5 separate regions of the Homo sapiens genome follow, and regions 1, 2, 3 and 4 are each linked to region 5. The links are contacts of gene promoters, found by promoter capture Hi-C in human tissues and cell types (Jung and others, 2019). All regions are on one chromosome and are shown on one strand. The core of a region is centred on a gene start or on the middle of the fragment in contact, and the rest is flanking DNA. Distances in the headings are between cores, read along the strand shown.

Evidence for each region. The method cuts DNA at HindIII sites, captures the fragments that hold promoters and counts their contacts. A contact is called where the count stands out against the background at its distance.
Region 1: a fragment that was not itself captured here is called in contact with the fragment with the promoter of CPSF4L in region 5 in 4 of the 25 tissues and cell types used here (dorsolateral prefrontal cortex, liver, lymphoblastoid cells and 1 more).
Region 2: a fragment that was not itself captured here is called in contact with the fragment with the promoter of CPSF4L in region 5 in 1 of the 25 tissues and cell types used here (thymus).
Region 3: a contact is called between a fragment that was not itself captured here and the fragment with the promoter of CPSF4L in region 5, in 3 of the 25 tissues and cell types used here (dorsolateral prefrontal cortex, liver and pancreas).
Region 4: a fragment that was not itself captured here is called in contact with the fragment with the promoter of CPSF4L in region 5 in 2 of the 25 tissues and cell types used here (H1 embryonic stem cells and mesendoderm cells).

The regions. Positions count from the first base shown.
Region 1 is chr17:72,751,306-72,754,005 of GRCh38, reverse strand. The region is part of intron 6 of SLC39A11 (solute carrier family 39 member 11); the gene reads left to right. Among named protein-coding and RNA genes, the nearest start is that of LINC00511, 110 kb to the right of the region's middle. The HindIII fragment of the contact is 4,804 bases long and covers 1-2,700 here.
Region 2 is chr17:73,659,027-73,661,726 of GRCh38, reverse strand. No RefSeq gene overlaps it. Among named protein-coding and RNA genes, the nearest start is that of SDK2, 16 kb to the right of the region's middle. The HindIII fragment of the contact is 4,792 bases long and covers 1-2,700 here.
Region 3 is chr17:72,972,401-72,975,100 of GRCh38, reverse strand. All of the region lies in intron 4 of SLC39A11 (solute carrier family 39 member 11), which reads left to right. Among named protein-coding and RNA genes, the nearest start is that of SLC39A11, 120 kb to the left of the region's middle. The HindIII fragment of the contact is 5,164 bases long and covers 1-2,700 here.
Region 4 is chr17:73,615,943-73,618,801 of GRCh38, reverse strand. All of the region lies in intron 1 of SDK2 (sidekick cell adhesion molecule 2), which reads left to right. Among named protein-coding and RNA genes, the nearest start is that of SDK2, 27 kb to the left of the region's middle. The HindIII fragment of the contact is 3,199 bases long and covers 1-2,859 here.
Region 5 is chr17:73,260,574-73,263,330 of GRCh38, reverse strand. It overlaps CPSF4L (cleavage and polyadenylation specific factor 4 like), which reads left to right and starts at 1,451. Exons shown (of 6, transcript NM_001129885.1): 1 at 1,451-1,615; 2 at 2,348-2,398. The coding sequence starts at 1,513. The HindIII fragment of the contact is 16,084 bases long and covers 1-2,757 here.

The DNA.
Region 1 (2,700 bases), core at 45-2,544, 510 kb after region 5:
CAGTTTCTTTATCCACTTGTTGATTGATGGGCATTTGGGCTGTTTCCACATTTTTGCAGTTGTGAATTGTGCTGCTATGAACGTGTGTGCAGGTTTTTTTTTTTTTTTTTTTTTTTGTATAATGACTTTTCCTATGGGTAGATATCCAGTAGTGGGATTGCTGGATCCAGTGGTAGTTCTACTTATAGTTCTTTAAGGAAATACTTTGAAGTGAAATTTCAGAGTTGTCAGGGAGGCCTGTTAGGGAAACAGACTTGTACAACCCTGGAGAATGCCCTTTCCAACTATCGTCAATGTCAACCCGCCTCCCTGAATGTGCTCTGAAGGTAACAGATCCCCAGACACCTGAGAAAAACCCAAAGAATGAAAAAAAGGGACTGAAGTAAGTAGGACAACCTACTCTGGAGAAAACAGGGAGCCCAGGAGACAGAAGAACATAAAAATTCAAAGCAGTATGTTCAGCTGGAGATTCAAGAGCATATTTATCATGCTCATAAAGCAAGAACTGACTGTGATAAAAATGAATAATCAGAGAATAAGAAAGAGTTCTTGAAAATTAATCATATCGTATAATTGCCAGAATTCTTTTAGAAAGTTAAATGGATAGATTCATTAGAATATTCTGAATGAAAGGCCAAGCAGGTTATCTGGAAGGTTAAGTAGAAGACAATTCTCCAGTTCCCAAACACAAAGTCAAAGATGTAAGGTATGTGTGCAGGCATGTGGGGAAATTTTTCCTGAGCTGAAAAAAAGCACAACCTTGTAGATTTAAAAGACCACCTAATGCTGAATAGTGGGAATGGAGAAAATACCCCACTCAGACATATCTTGATGAATCTCAAAACTCTGAAAACAAGCAGTGGCTCATGCCTGTAATCCCAGCACTTTGGGAGACCGAGGTTGGAGGGTCACTTGAGTCCAGGAGTTCGAGACCAGCCTGGCCAACATATGAAGACATGGTCTCTACAAAAACTAAAAATAAATTAGCTGGGCATGGTGGCATGCATCTGTGGTCCCAGCTACTCAAGAGGCTGAGGTGGGAAGATTGGTTGGGCCCAGGAGGTCAAGGCTGCAGTGAGCCATGATGGCACCATTGCACTCCAGCCCGGGCCACAGAGTGAGACCTATCTCAAAAATCAAAACAACACCACCACCAACAAAAACTCCAGAAACAAAGATGAAATTGTTGAGAGCTTCCAGAGAGAAAAGTCTTCTTAAATACAAGGAAATGAGAATGGAATTAGCATCAGACTTTTCAGCAGCAGCATCAGATACTGGAAGATGATGGAACAATACCCTCAAGACATTGAGCAGGCCAGGCACCATGGCTCATGCCTGTAATCCCAGCACTTTGGGAGGCCAAGGCAGGAGGATTACTTGAGCCCAGGAGTTAGCGACCAGCTGAGGCAATACAGTGAGACCCTGTCTTAAAAATAAATAAAAAGAAAAAAGATACTAAGGCCCGGGCGTGGTGGCTCACACCTGTAATCCTAACACTTTTGGGAGGCTGAGGCAGGCAGATCACCTGAGGTCAGGAGTTCGAGACCAGCCTGGCCAACATGGTGAAACCCCATCTCTACTAAAAATACTAAAGTTAGCTGGGCGTGGTGGTGCGTGCCTGTAATCCCAGCTACCTGGGAGGCTGAGGCAGGAGAATTGCTGGAACCCGGGAGGCGGAGGCTGCAGTAAGCCAAGATCACGCCACTGCTCTCCAGCCCGGGTGACAGAGCGAGACTCCATCTTAAGAAAGAAAAAACAGAAAAAAAGATATTAAGGAGAGGTAACTTGGGATGCAGCACTTTCAAGTCAAGCTATTAAGTCACAGAGAAAAATCAAAATTTTTCTTTTCTATGTCAGGGTTCAGAAGTTTATCACCCACACATCCCGTAGGAGGTTAAGGAGGCCCCCTGACAAAATGAAGAAGGGACACAAGGGGATAATATGACATAAGAAAGAGGGCATCACAGATACTGTGTGAGTCCTGCTCTGCGAGACACCTGAGGAGTCAGTGGCACAGAGGCAGGAAGTAGAAGGATGGTTGCCAGGGGCTGTGGGAGGGAGGAGGAGGAATGGGGATCTGGGTTCAGTGGGTGGAGAGTTTCAATTATGCAAGATAAAAAGAGCTCTGGAGCCGGGTGCAGTGGCTCATACCTGTAATCCCAGCACTCTGGGAAGCCAAGGCAGGCAGATCACTCGAGGCCAGGGGTTCGAGACCAGCCTGGCTGACATAACAAAACCCTGTCTCTACCAAAATTACAAAATTAGCCGGGCATAGTGATGCATGGCTGTACTCCCAGCTACTGGGATCACTGAGGTACAAGAATCACTTGAATCCAGGAGGCGAAGATTGCAGTGAGCTGAGATCATGCCATTGCACTCCAGCCTGGGCGACGGAGCAAGACTCTGTCTCAAAAAAAAACCAAAGAGCTCTGGAGATGGGTGGTGGCGATGGCTGTACAAAAGTGATTGCACTTAATGCCAATGAATGTACACTTAAAAATGAGGAAGATGCTCAATTACATGTTATTCATTCACATTTTATCACAATTAAAAATGGTAATAAGAAAGGGAGGAAGGAAGGAAAGAACCTAATTAAAACCTAGACGATGAGAGGATGGGGGCCACGATTCTTAGAACTGTCTTCTTCAAATGGGAAGAGTTTGAAGCTTTAGGATTGTTTTTCCTTACCTTCATATAGCA
Region 2 (2,700 bases), core at 198-2,697, 400 kb before region 5:
AGAAGTACAATGAATAAGGTCTTGCTCTATAGGCAGCAAAACATACTATACAGATATTTGTTAAGATAACATAGCTATGATGCAGAAATAGACAATCAGATCAAATAACCAGAATAAAGAACAGAAACAGATACATTATAATTAGCTGTGGTTTCCATGCAGTGGAATTGATCACTAAAACTTATGTCTCTAGTGTAAATGAAACATCGTACCCTTTGATCAACCTCTCCCTTCTCTGCGTTCTTCCCTACCCAACCCCAGCCCTAGTGCGCAGTAACCACTTGTCTACTCTCTGTTAGTATGAGATCAATTTTTTTAGATCCCACATATCCATGAAATCATACAGTGCTTGTCTTTCTGTGCTTGGCTTATAGTCTGCTCTGGCGAGGAGGGTATGAGACTTCCACGTGCTGAAGCAGGAGACTGGGCTCAACCTCCACTTCCCGGGTTCAAGCGATTCTCCCACCTCAGCCTCCCAAGTAGCTGCAACTACAGGCGCATGCCACCACACCAGGCTAATTTTTGTATTTTTAGTAGAAATGAGGTTTCACCATGTTAGCCAGGATGGTCTCGATCTCCTGACCTCATGATCTGCCCGCCTCAGCCTTCCAAAGTGCTGGGATTACAGGCATGAGCCACTGTGCCCGGCCCAAATTACTTTTAAATATACAGATGCTCCTCACCTTATGATGGGGCTACATCTTGATAAATCTTAGGTAAGCTTCAATCTTAGGTTGAAAATATCGTAAGTAGGAAATGCATTTATTGCACCTAATCTACCAAACACCCCTAGCCTACTTCAAATGTGCTCAGAACACTGACATTAGCCTACAGTTAGACAAAATCATCTAACACGAAGCCTATTTTATAATAAAGTATGTAATATCTCATGTAATGTATTGAATACTGCACTGAACATGAAAAACAGAATGGTTGCATGGGCACTGAAAGCATGGTTTCTACTGAATGAGTATCACTTTGGCACCATCGTACAGCTCCAGGAGATAAGGACCTCACTGCCAAAGAGATCCTCTGACTTTCACACTTTGCTCTGAATTGGTGATTAATAAACTTGGGCCCGCCATTTCTTTCTTTGCTGCACTAGTGTCTCTCAGAAACAGCCTCTCAATTCCATAATCCTTATAATTACTGTCTCTGCTATAATGCTCCAATGCCAGAAATATTGCAAAAGCCAGTACATCCCCTTCCAACTGTAAGCTGTCACAGAAATTGTATCGCTACCAAATGCCAGGAGCTATCATTTCTCCTTCTATCACCAGTGTTGAGTTTCTCATTGCCAGCGGGTTATCCAACTGCAGACTCCCGTTCTTAGCATTTGCTTCTCCTGGCACCAACTGTCTTATGTCAGGGTCCTTAGAAGAGTGGTTCTCAAAGTGTGGTCCCTGGACCAGCATCATCAGCATCAACTTGCTAGAAATGCAAATTATGGACCCTTTCCTAGACCCACTGAAACAGGCAGTGGAGGGGAAGCCCAGCGATGTGTGCTTTAACAAACCCTATTGGTGTTTCTTTTCTTTCTTTTTTGAGACAGGGTCTTGCTCTGTTGTCCAGACTGGAGTGCAGTTGCCCAAGTATGGGTCGCTGCAGCCTTTACATCCCAGTCTCAAGTGATTCTCCCGCCTTAACCCGCCAAGTAGCGGGGACTAAAGACACATGCACCATGCCTGGAAAATTTCTTTGTTTCATTTTTTGTGGGAACAAGTTCTCCCTATGTTGCCCAGGCTTGTCTCAAACTCCTGGGCTCAAGCAATTCTCCCACCTCAGCCTCCCAAAGTGCTGGGATTACAGGTGTGAGCCACCACACCTGGACGGTGATTCTCATACATGAGAAAGATAAAGAACCATCACCCTCAAAGCGGAGCCTGAGATGAGAATTCTGGTGCAGGAGAGTTCTTAAAGGAATCCTCCCAGGAGGAAGACGAGAGGACATGAGGAACACAGAATAAGTCAGGAAAAGCAGCGAGGCAAAGATGCGGGCTCTGCTGATGTCCTCCCACAGCCCACAGTGAGCTCTGGAGCATGAATGGTACCACAAAGCTGTCCCCGCTTGAGACAATAAGGCCAGCCTTGTACACCTGCATCAGTCAGCCATTGGCTAAAGCAACCCCTGCCATGCGGGGCTAAGGGAAGTTTCCAGACATCTCCAGCTGAGGCCACTCTAGTGGCCATGGGCAATTCTCTGAGGAAGGGCAGCTGTGACCTTTCAGCCACCAACACTTGCAGCCCCTGGGGGATGGGCACAAGCTCCCGCAAAGGCCCATGTATCTGGTTGGGGTCCTAGCAGCATCTACGCCAAAGTGCCCAGAGCTTGTTGATGTTCTTTGCAGCAGGAAAACACAGCAAGGCAGCCTGCGGTCATGGAAAATGCCCTGGACAAAAAGTCAAATGACTGGGATTTGAGCCCAGCACCAAACTACAGTTCTGTGGCCTTATCTTTGGCCTCAGTTCCCATGTTTATAACAAGGGGCTGACACTGCTACTATGCTTGTGAACGTCAAATTAGGTAATATATGTAAAACTGCATTAGAAACTTGAAATCATAAAAGAATATTATATATTTTATGCTTTCCGTTGAGCAGAAAAATAAATACGTAATTTACCTTTGGTGATAAGGATTTATGACAGAGGTATAATTCCTAGATCACCGGGTTGAGCATTTTCGCCTTAACTAGATATTGC
Region 3 (2,700 bases), core at 179-2,678, 290 kb after region 5:
TTCTAATAAAGTCATGCATTACTCAACGGTGGGGATACATGCTGAGAAATGTCTCATTGTTCAAACATCATAGAGTGTACTTACCCAAACAAAGATGGGATAGCCTACTGCACACATAGGCTGTAGGGTGTAGCCTATTGCTCCGAGGCTACAAACCTGTATAGTATGTTACTGTGTTGAATGCTGTGGACAACTGTAACACAATGACAAGTATTTGTGTATCTGAACATAGAAGAGGTGCAGTAAAAACATGGTATAAAAGATAAGAGGTAGTACACCTGTCTAGGGCACTCATCATGAATGGAGCTTGCAGGGCTGGAAGTTGCTCTGGGTGAGTCAGTGAGTCAGTGAGTGAGTGGTGAGTGAATGTGAAGGCCTAGGACATTACTATACACTACCGTAGACTTTGTAAACACTGTATACTTAAGCTACACTAAAGCAATCAAAATATTTTTCTACAATAATACATTGGCCTTAACTTACTGTAACATTTTTACCTTATCAGCTTGTAAAAACGTTTTGACTCTTTTGTAATAACACTTAGCTTAAAACACACTGTAAAGCTGTAGCTGTACAAAGGTATTTTCTTGTTTGATATCTTTGTTCTGTAAGCTTTTTTCTATTAAAAAATTTAAATTCCTTTTTACTTAATTTTTTTTTTTTTTTTTTGGTACAAAATGAAGATACAAATGCAAACATTAGGCCGGGTGTGGTGGCTCACACCTGTAATCCCAGCACTTTGGGAGGCCAAGGTGGGTGGATCACCTGAGGTCAAGACTTAGAGACCAGCCTGGCCAACGTGGCAAAACCTTGTCTCTACTAAAATTACAAAAATTAGCCAAGTGTGGTGGCGGGCGCCTGTAATCCCAGGTACTCAGGAGGCTGAGGCATGAGAATCAGTTGAACCTGGGAGGTAGAGGTTGCGGTGAGCCAGATCGCGCCACTGCACTCCAGCCTGGGTGACAGAGTGAGACTCCATCTCAAGAAAATAAAAAATAAAATAAGCACGAATGTTAGCCTAGGCCTACAAAGGGTCAGGATCATCCAGATGTCACTAGGCAATAGGAATCTTTCACTCTGTTATGATCCTGTGGAATCACTGTCTTATATGTCACCCACTGTTGACTTTCATGTCATCATGCACACAAGACTGGACTGTCACCTCGGAGCTTAGGAATCCACTGTATTAATTTTGGGAGGACACAAACTTTCAGACCATGGTACCTACTGAATCACTTACTGGCCAGGTGCGGTGGTTCATGCCTTAATCTCAGCACTTTGGGAGTCCGAGGTACGTGGATCGCTTGAGCCCAGGAGTTCAAGACCAGCTTAGGCAACATGGTGAAACTCCATCTCTACAAAAAATTTTAAAAAATTAGCTGGGCATGGTGGCACATGCCTGTGATCCCAGCTACTTGGGAAGCTGAAGTGGGAGGATCATCTGAGCCCCAGAGGTCGAGGCTGCAGTGAGCTGTGATTGTGCCACTGCACTCCTGCCAGGGTGACAGAGTGAGACCCTGTCTCAAAAAAGAAAAAAATCCACTTATCCTTTTGTCTTTCTAACAGAACTCCAATTCTGTTTGATCTAGCAATGTGCCTACCTATAATTCCTAGACCTACAGCCTCCCCTGCAGCCCAGGGAAACCATGTGAGGTCAGCAAAAGTCATCAGGGAGGTTGTCCCTTCTCATCTTCTACTTGCCCTTCCTTCTCCTGGAAACAGCAGGGTGGTCCTTGGGGTGCGACAGCCATCACTCAGGTGACAGAGTAGCCTGGTGCCCCCCCGGCAGTGCTGGGGCCACTGTACCCGCTGGATGGCTGACCCTGGTCCTTCTGCTGACCCAGACAAATAAACCTTTCCTGTGTAAGTCGCTGCAGTAGGGTTTTCTATTTCTTCTAATCAAACCTAATCTTAACTAGTTGTTTGAGCCAACTTTTATGCAAGGAAAAGATGGTTTCCATAATTTTTCTATGTTATTGTTTGTTCACGTTTCCTAAGGAAAGGACAAGCAGAAGGCAGCTTGGGGTATTTATGGTGGGCTTCGTGGTGTGCATGTGGGCACAAAGGGCTCAGCTGAAGCCTGTGTGGTCGCTGTCCAGGAGCTCGGTTGAAGGAGCTGGTCATGGTGTCCAGCAACCCACAGCATCCTTTTCCTTCCTGCCTGACCTACCACAGAGGTTGGTGTTTATTTTTGAGACCTGGACAAATTAAAAAGAATATCCAACAGGAGGGTTGGCCAAAACTTGACCTTGGCAGGGAAGGTCAGGACAGGAGGCCAGACAACTAAATGTGATGACCACAGTGATTTCCACGGGCAGAGCAATATCCTGTTTCTAAAGCCGGCTCCAAGAGGCCTAGTGAGGGCTGTCTTTGGTTGCTACAGTCTGGGAAGAGATCCTCATGGACCCCAGGAAATAATCTGTGTTTGGCAAATAGAGAAGAACAAACTTAGAAACAGTGACCTTTTCTTTGTAAGCTTCTCGGAGGGTTGTAATGATGGAAAATAATTATTAAGTCTCCGTTGGCTCAGGGCCCCTGAATGGAAATGGGAGAGGATATTGATTAGCTCAATGGCTCTTTAAAGAGCTCGCTGTGTTTGCCCTCATGCCTCATAAGCAGACAGCCTCTTTTCTGTCTCCATACTTATTGGATTTTAGATGGCAACGCACACAAATACTGCTTTCACTGAGTAAATATTAG
Region 4 (2,859 bases), core at 223-2,722, 360 kb before region 5:
TGTGCCAGACACAGACCCTCCACCTGTCCATCGCCTTTATTCCTGGCATTGCTTTCCTTGGCCGTGAGGATGGCAGGGGTGATCGGGGAATAGGAAGTTGCCTGTCTAAGTACCTTCCCTGTAGAAGAGTCTTGCTTGGCCTCTGCTTCCCTGACTCCCCCATGCCGTTCTTGGGCACCACGTGGACTCTAGATTCCAAAGGGAAACACCCTTCCTGTTCATGGGGCAGAAATGGAGACTCCTTTTTCCTCTCTCATTTCTCACACTGTCCTGGGCATACAGTAGGTTTTTTATAGTTCCTTGCTGATTAATTAAGAGGTCATGATTCTAAAAGGGCAAAGGAGTGATGCTTCCTTGAATCCTTGTGGCTCCATAGCCCTTGGGCTTGGCCGACCACTGCCTCCCTGGAGAATCTTGTTTTGACGACTATAAATGAATCCACAGGCACAGCGAGCTCTCCCTCTCCATGGGGAGAGGCCAGTTGGCATGAACGGCCATTTCTGCCCCAAGCCAGAAGCAAAACATAAAATGAGGCTGGGCAAAGGTATGGGGTCTAATTAAGAGGGACACTCCTAGGTATAAGAGCTGCGTCATTTACAGGCTAATGAATGGGTTTGGGTTAGCAAATTACCATTTCCCTACCTGCAGGTAAGGAAACCTATCTATTGGTTCAAGGTCTCTTGCATTTGCCTGGTATTAAATTAAGCACCTCTCTCCCCTTTAACAGGCTTCTCTCCCTGGCCCATCACACTCCATGGGACCTCCCTGGCTCCTTGGCCTGGTGGGTTCGGTCTAGTGGTTAACTCGTCAGACAGCAGCTTGCCCTCCTGACATCTTGTTTTTCTTTGTTCTGTTTTGTTTTAAGGCGTTTAGATCTCGATGTGTTCTCAAAACAGGGTTGTTGGGTATTTTGTTTTGTTTTAGTTTTACCATATCCCAGAGGCCGGGGGATGGATGAGATGACTTCCAGAGGCCTTTTCAGGCTCCCTCTTATGATGTCCTGTTTTTCTGGAGGTGAATTGGGAATTCTTTAGTTAATGGGCATAAAGTGCTTTGAAAACACAAATTGTTAAGTGGCATCAGGGACAGACTCACTAATTATTTATGAGTTCAGGAGAGCCAGTTAATTCTCCAGGAGATGGAGTTGTATTGGCAGGGGGTTGGTAAATCACTCAGGAGAACGCAAATAGCTGGGACGCCCCCTTCGTAAGCTCCCCTGGAGCCTGTCGACTAGGTATGCTGGACAGGGAGAGATCTCTGCAGCCAGAGGACAGCTCTAAGGGCCTTGTTGCCTGTCACCCTCCTCCCCACCTTGGCTGAAGTTAAAAATCAGAGCCAGGAGCCAGAAGGGCCCCTGGGGGTCTCTGGGTTCATTTCCTTGCCTTAGAGCAAAACTGCATTCAAACCATCCTAGAAAGAGAAGCATTGACTCTTTGCCTCCTAAGAACCCCCTGAAGCCCTCTCCCCTCCCCTCCGCAGGAGGCCTCTCCCCTCCCCTCTGCAGGAGGCCTCTCCCCTCCCCTGGAGCCCTCTCACCTCCCCTCTGCAGGAGGCCTCTCCCCTCCCCTCTGCGGGAGCCCTCTCCCCTCCTCTCTGCAGGAGGCCCCTCCCCTCCCCTGGAGCCCTCTCCCCTCCTCTCTGCGGGAAGCTTCTCCCCTCCCCAGAGGCCTCTCCCTTCCCCTCTACAGCCCTTCACCTTCTTTGCTCAGTGCGAGGTCAGCTCTCTCAACCACCCCTGCCCACAAGCATGCTCACAGCTATGGCCTTCCATTCCTTCATTCATTCAATAAACATGTGTCGTGGGCCTCCCATGTGCCATGCATGGGCCTGTGAAAACCCGCCCTCTCATCCCAGCACCTTTTCTAGACCTCCGCTCTCCCTAGGAGAGCTGTCTCTCCGCCCACTTTGTCTCCCCTCTGCATTCTCAGCTATCCCCACTTCAGAAGGGGCTTCTGTGTCCCTGAGCCCTGGAATCTGACCCCTTCCCCAGGCATCTCATGGTGGGAATGCGCACAGTGCAGTGCCTGCAGCTCTGAGAGCACCTCCCTCACCTCTCAGGCACCTCTCTAAGGGCTGGGCCCAGGAGGAAAGTGGCTTCCTATCCTGTAACTCTCACAGCATTCTGCAAAAACTAGCTGGACTAGTTAGTTTCTTATCTTCCTTCGTTTATAGCATCATGGAACGTTCATTTTCTCAGCCCCAAACACCCAGGACTAAGATTCCATTACTCCAGAAAAAGGATCTGCTGCCACGTGGTAATTCAGCCAGGAGAACGAAACAAACCAAAGCAACAAACCAAACAAAGACAAATGCGTGCTCAGGCCTAAGCATTGCGACAGTGGTCCTTGAGGCCACGGTCAGCCTGCCCAAGTGAAAGGAAATCACCGTTGCTTGCCTCTTTCCCTCTTGTTTTTTTCTCCTTCCTGAGCCTGCATGTGTGTGTGGGATGCTGAGCTGGGGCTGGGGAGACTGTTGAGGTGGGGAGCCGGGGGTGGAAATTTGTCTAGCTCAGACAGGCGGGGAGAGGGTGGGGAAGGCAAGCAGCACCGGGATGCCTGGGGCTGCCGAGCACAAGGTTCACAGTGCCCTGAGGTCAGTTTGCAAGGTAGCATGCAAGTGGCTTGCCTTTCTGGTCGCTTCCTGATGTTCTGGGGAAGAGGAGGTACCGATTCCACAAACTGGATCATATGTCTACTTCATGCACACTGTCAAGCTCAGATGCAGAGGGAAGAAGTATGTATGTGTGTGTACGTGTGTGTATGTGTGTTCATGTGTATATGCATATGTGTCTACATGCATGCGTGTGTACGTGTATTTGGGTTGTGTGTTCATGTGCATGTGTAGGCATGTGTGTCACAT
Region 5 (2,757 bases), core at 202-2,701:
ATGTTTAGGGAAGGAAGTCATCAAGAGACCTAGATGTGAACCCCATCCATAGCGCCTCCCAAACCATGTGGTCTTGGCCTCCCTGGGCTTTGATTCCCTCATCAGTCCTGCCTGCGCTGCCAGGCTTCTGTGAGCCTTTAATGAGCCTGTGTTGACAGATGAATGCATTCTTGGGACTACTAATCAACGCATACAACTAAGGCCAAGAGAAGCCAGGGTTTCTACCCCAGGGACCCCCTTGGCCCCACCCTCTAGCCCTGGAGCTGGGTCCCTCTGCCTCTCCCAGGATGCAGTCAGAGGCCTGAGCTTCTGGAAACTCTTGGATCTCGTCCCTGCTCCTCCCAGTCCCACCTCGGCTCCAGGTGTCTATCTCTCCAGCTATTTTCTTTTCTGATCTGGAGTTCAAAAGAACAGATCTAGGAGCAACAGCCACGGGGAACAACAGCCAGCAGGCTAGTTCATGTTGGCCCAGCTGAGAGCCTGCGGGGCTGCCCACCTCTCCCTGCTGGGTTTGGGCACCCAGAAAGGAGGGCGTATGGGTTCTGGTTCTATGGGCATTAAAAGCCAATGTGACTGAGAACAGCAGCTCTAGTTAGAGGCAAGGCCAGTTTGGGGCCAGAGCAGGGGGAGGGGGAACCTGGTCTAATTAGAGCCCTAACATGCTCCTTTGAAAGCATTGTCAGATGTCCCCAGCCCTGCAGGCAGGGGTGGTGTAATAATAATAAAACAACATTTGCATAGAGATTTCATTTATAAAGCACTTTCTCAGGGGTGGGGTGGCACTGGGTGGCCCTGTGGAATCCTGGCTGGGAGGCCGCCCTGGCCTTGGTCGGTTCCGCCCTCCCGCCAAGCTGGCGATTGTGTGCGAGGTAAACAAAGCGCCATTCATCCAACTGTTTCAGTTCCTCTCCTCTTCATTCCTTTTTCCCTGTCTCCCACGAAGAGCTCACTCGGGGCTTGTCACTCAGGCCAGAAAAGGGGTGTCAGGGGCCCCAGAGGGAGACCCCTTCCCTCATGGGAAGAAGCGGGGAGGTGGGACGGCTCCCTCCCTCTGCAAACCCCCACCACCCCCAGCTCTGGCAGAATAACAGCCTTGCTGCGGTTGGTTTGTGCAACTCTTTGCTAACCTGTGGCTGTGTCTTCATGGACAAAGTATGAGCCCAGGTTTGGTAATGTCTGTGTGCACGCCACGTTTGTGTTCGGTAACATGCAAAGATAAGCAGTTTGTGGGGCTCTGCGAATCCCTCCCTATCCGAGTGAGCCTTGTGTACACAGTGTGGGGGTGAGGGGCCCTGGGGTGTCTGCCCCTGCACTGGGTGGGCCGGGTGAGGCAGCTGGGCCCTGCTCCTGTACAGCCCAGGCTGGAGCGTCCCCTGCAGTCACCTGGCCACTGGCACCCTGGGGTGAAGGGGGAGGCATTGGGCGCTGGCCCCTTAAGGGCCTCTGATGAGCTATATTGGGCCCACCTGCCTGGGTTCCAGCAGCTTCCGCAGCCCCAGCAGGAGACGGAAGATGCAAGAGGTCATTGCGGGGCTAGAGCGGTTCACCTTTGCCTTCGAGAAGGATGTCGAGATGCAGAAGGGCACTGGGCTCCTGCCTTTCCAGGGCATGGACAGTGAGTGAGGGTGGGGCCACTTTCCCTCCCCTACCTTCTCTGTTTTTTTTTCTTTGAGACGGAGTCTCGCTCTGTAGCCCAGGCTGGAGTGTAGTGGCACAATCTCGGCTCATTGCAAGCTCTGCCTCCTGGGTTCACGCCATTCTCCTGCCTCAGCCTCCCGAGGAGCTGGGACTACAGGCGCCCGCCACCACGCCCAGCTGATTTTTTGTATTTTTAGTAGAGACCGGGTTTCACCATGTTAGCCAGGATGGTCTCAATCTCCTGACCTCGTGATCCGCCCGCCTTGGCCTCCCAAAGTGCTGGGATTACAGGCATGAGCCACCACGCCCAGCCTCCCTCCCCCTTCCTTCTCTACAGGCCTCTCTGCTCAACTCCCTGATGCGACCGCCCCTTCTCTGTCTCTCTCTTCTGTGGCTTCGGGGCAACCCATTTTCCAGACTGAGAAAGAGAGGCACAGAGAGACGGTGAATTGAGAGAAGCCACACTGGCCTCCCGAGCTCCTGGGCCAGGCTTGAGCCCCTCGAGCTCCTCTGTTTCAGAGTTGGGGGGTTAAGGGTTGAGGTCTGCTGGCTGGCTCTGCAGGTTAACCTCTACAGGGCCCAGATTTGGGATCCCATAGGCCAGAGCCTGGGGGAGGTCTAGGTGGGACATGCCGATGGAGGTGGAGGCTTCCGGAACAGCTGCAGCCTCTGGGGAAGCTACCTTCTCCGTTCCCTCTTCTCCTTCCAGAGTCGGCCTCAGCTGTGTGCAACTTCTTCACTAAAGGGCTCTGTGAGAAAGGTGAGTTAGCAGACAGGCCTGGGCCCCAAGCTGGGTGAGTGTAGGGTCTGTCTGAGCTACACCCAGCAGGGGCTCTGCCTGGCCTGGGATAGGGTGTCGAATTTGCACCTGGGGAGGGAAAATTGGGATGGAACGGAATTTTATTTTTATTTTATTTATTTATTTTTAGATGGAATCTCGCTCTGTTGCCCAGGCTAGAGTGATCTGGCGTGATCTCAACTCACTGCAACCTCTGCCTCCTGGGTTCAAGCGATTCTCCTTCCTCAGCCTCCCGAGTAACTGGAACTACAGGTGCATGCCACCAAGCCCGGCTAATTTTTGCATTTTTAGTAGAGATGGAGTTTTGTCATGTTGGCCAG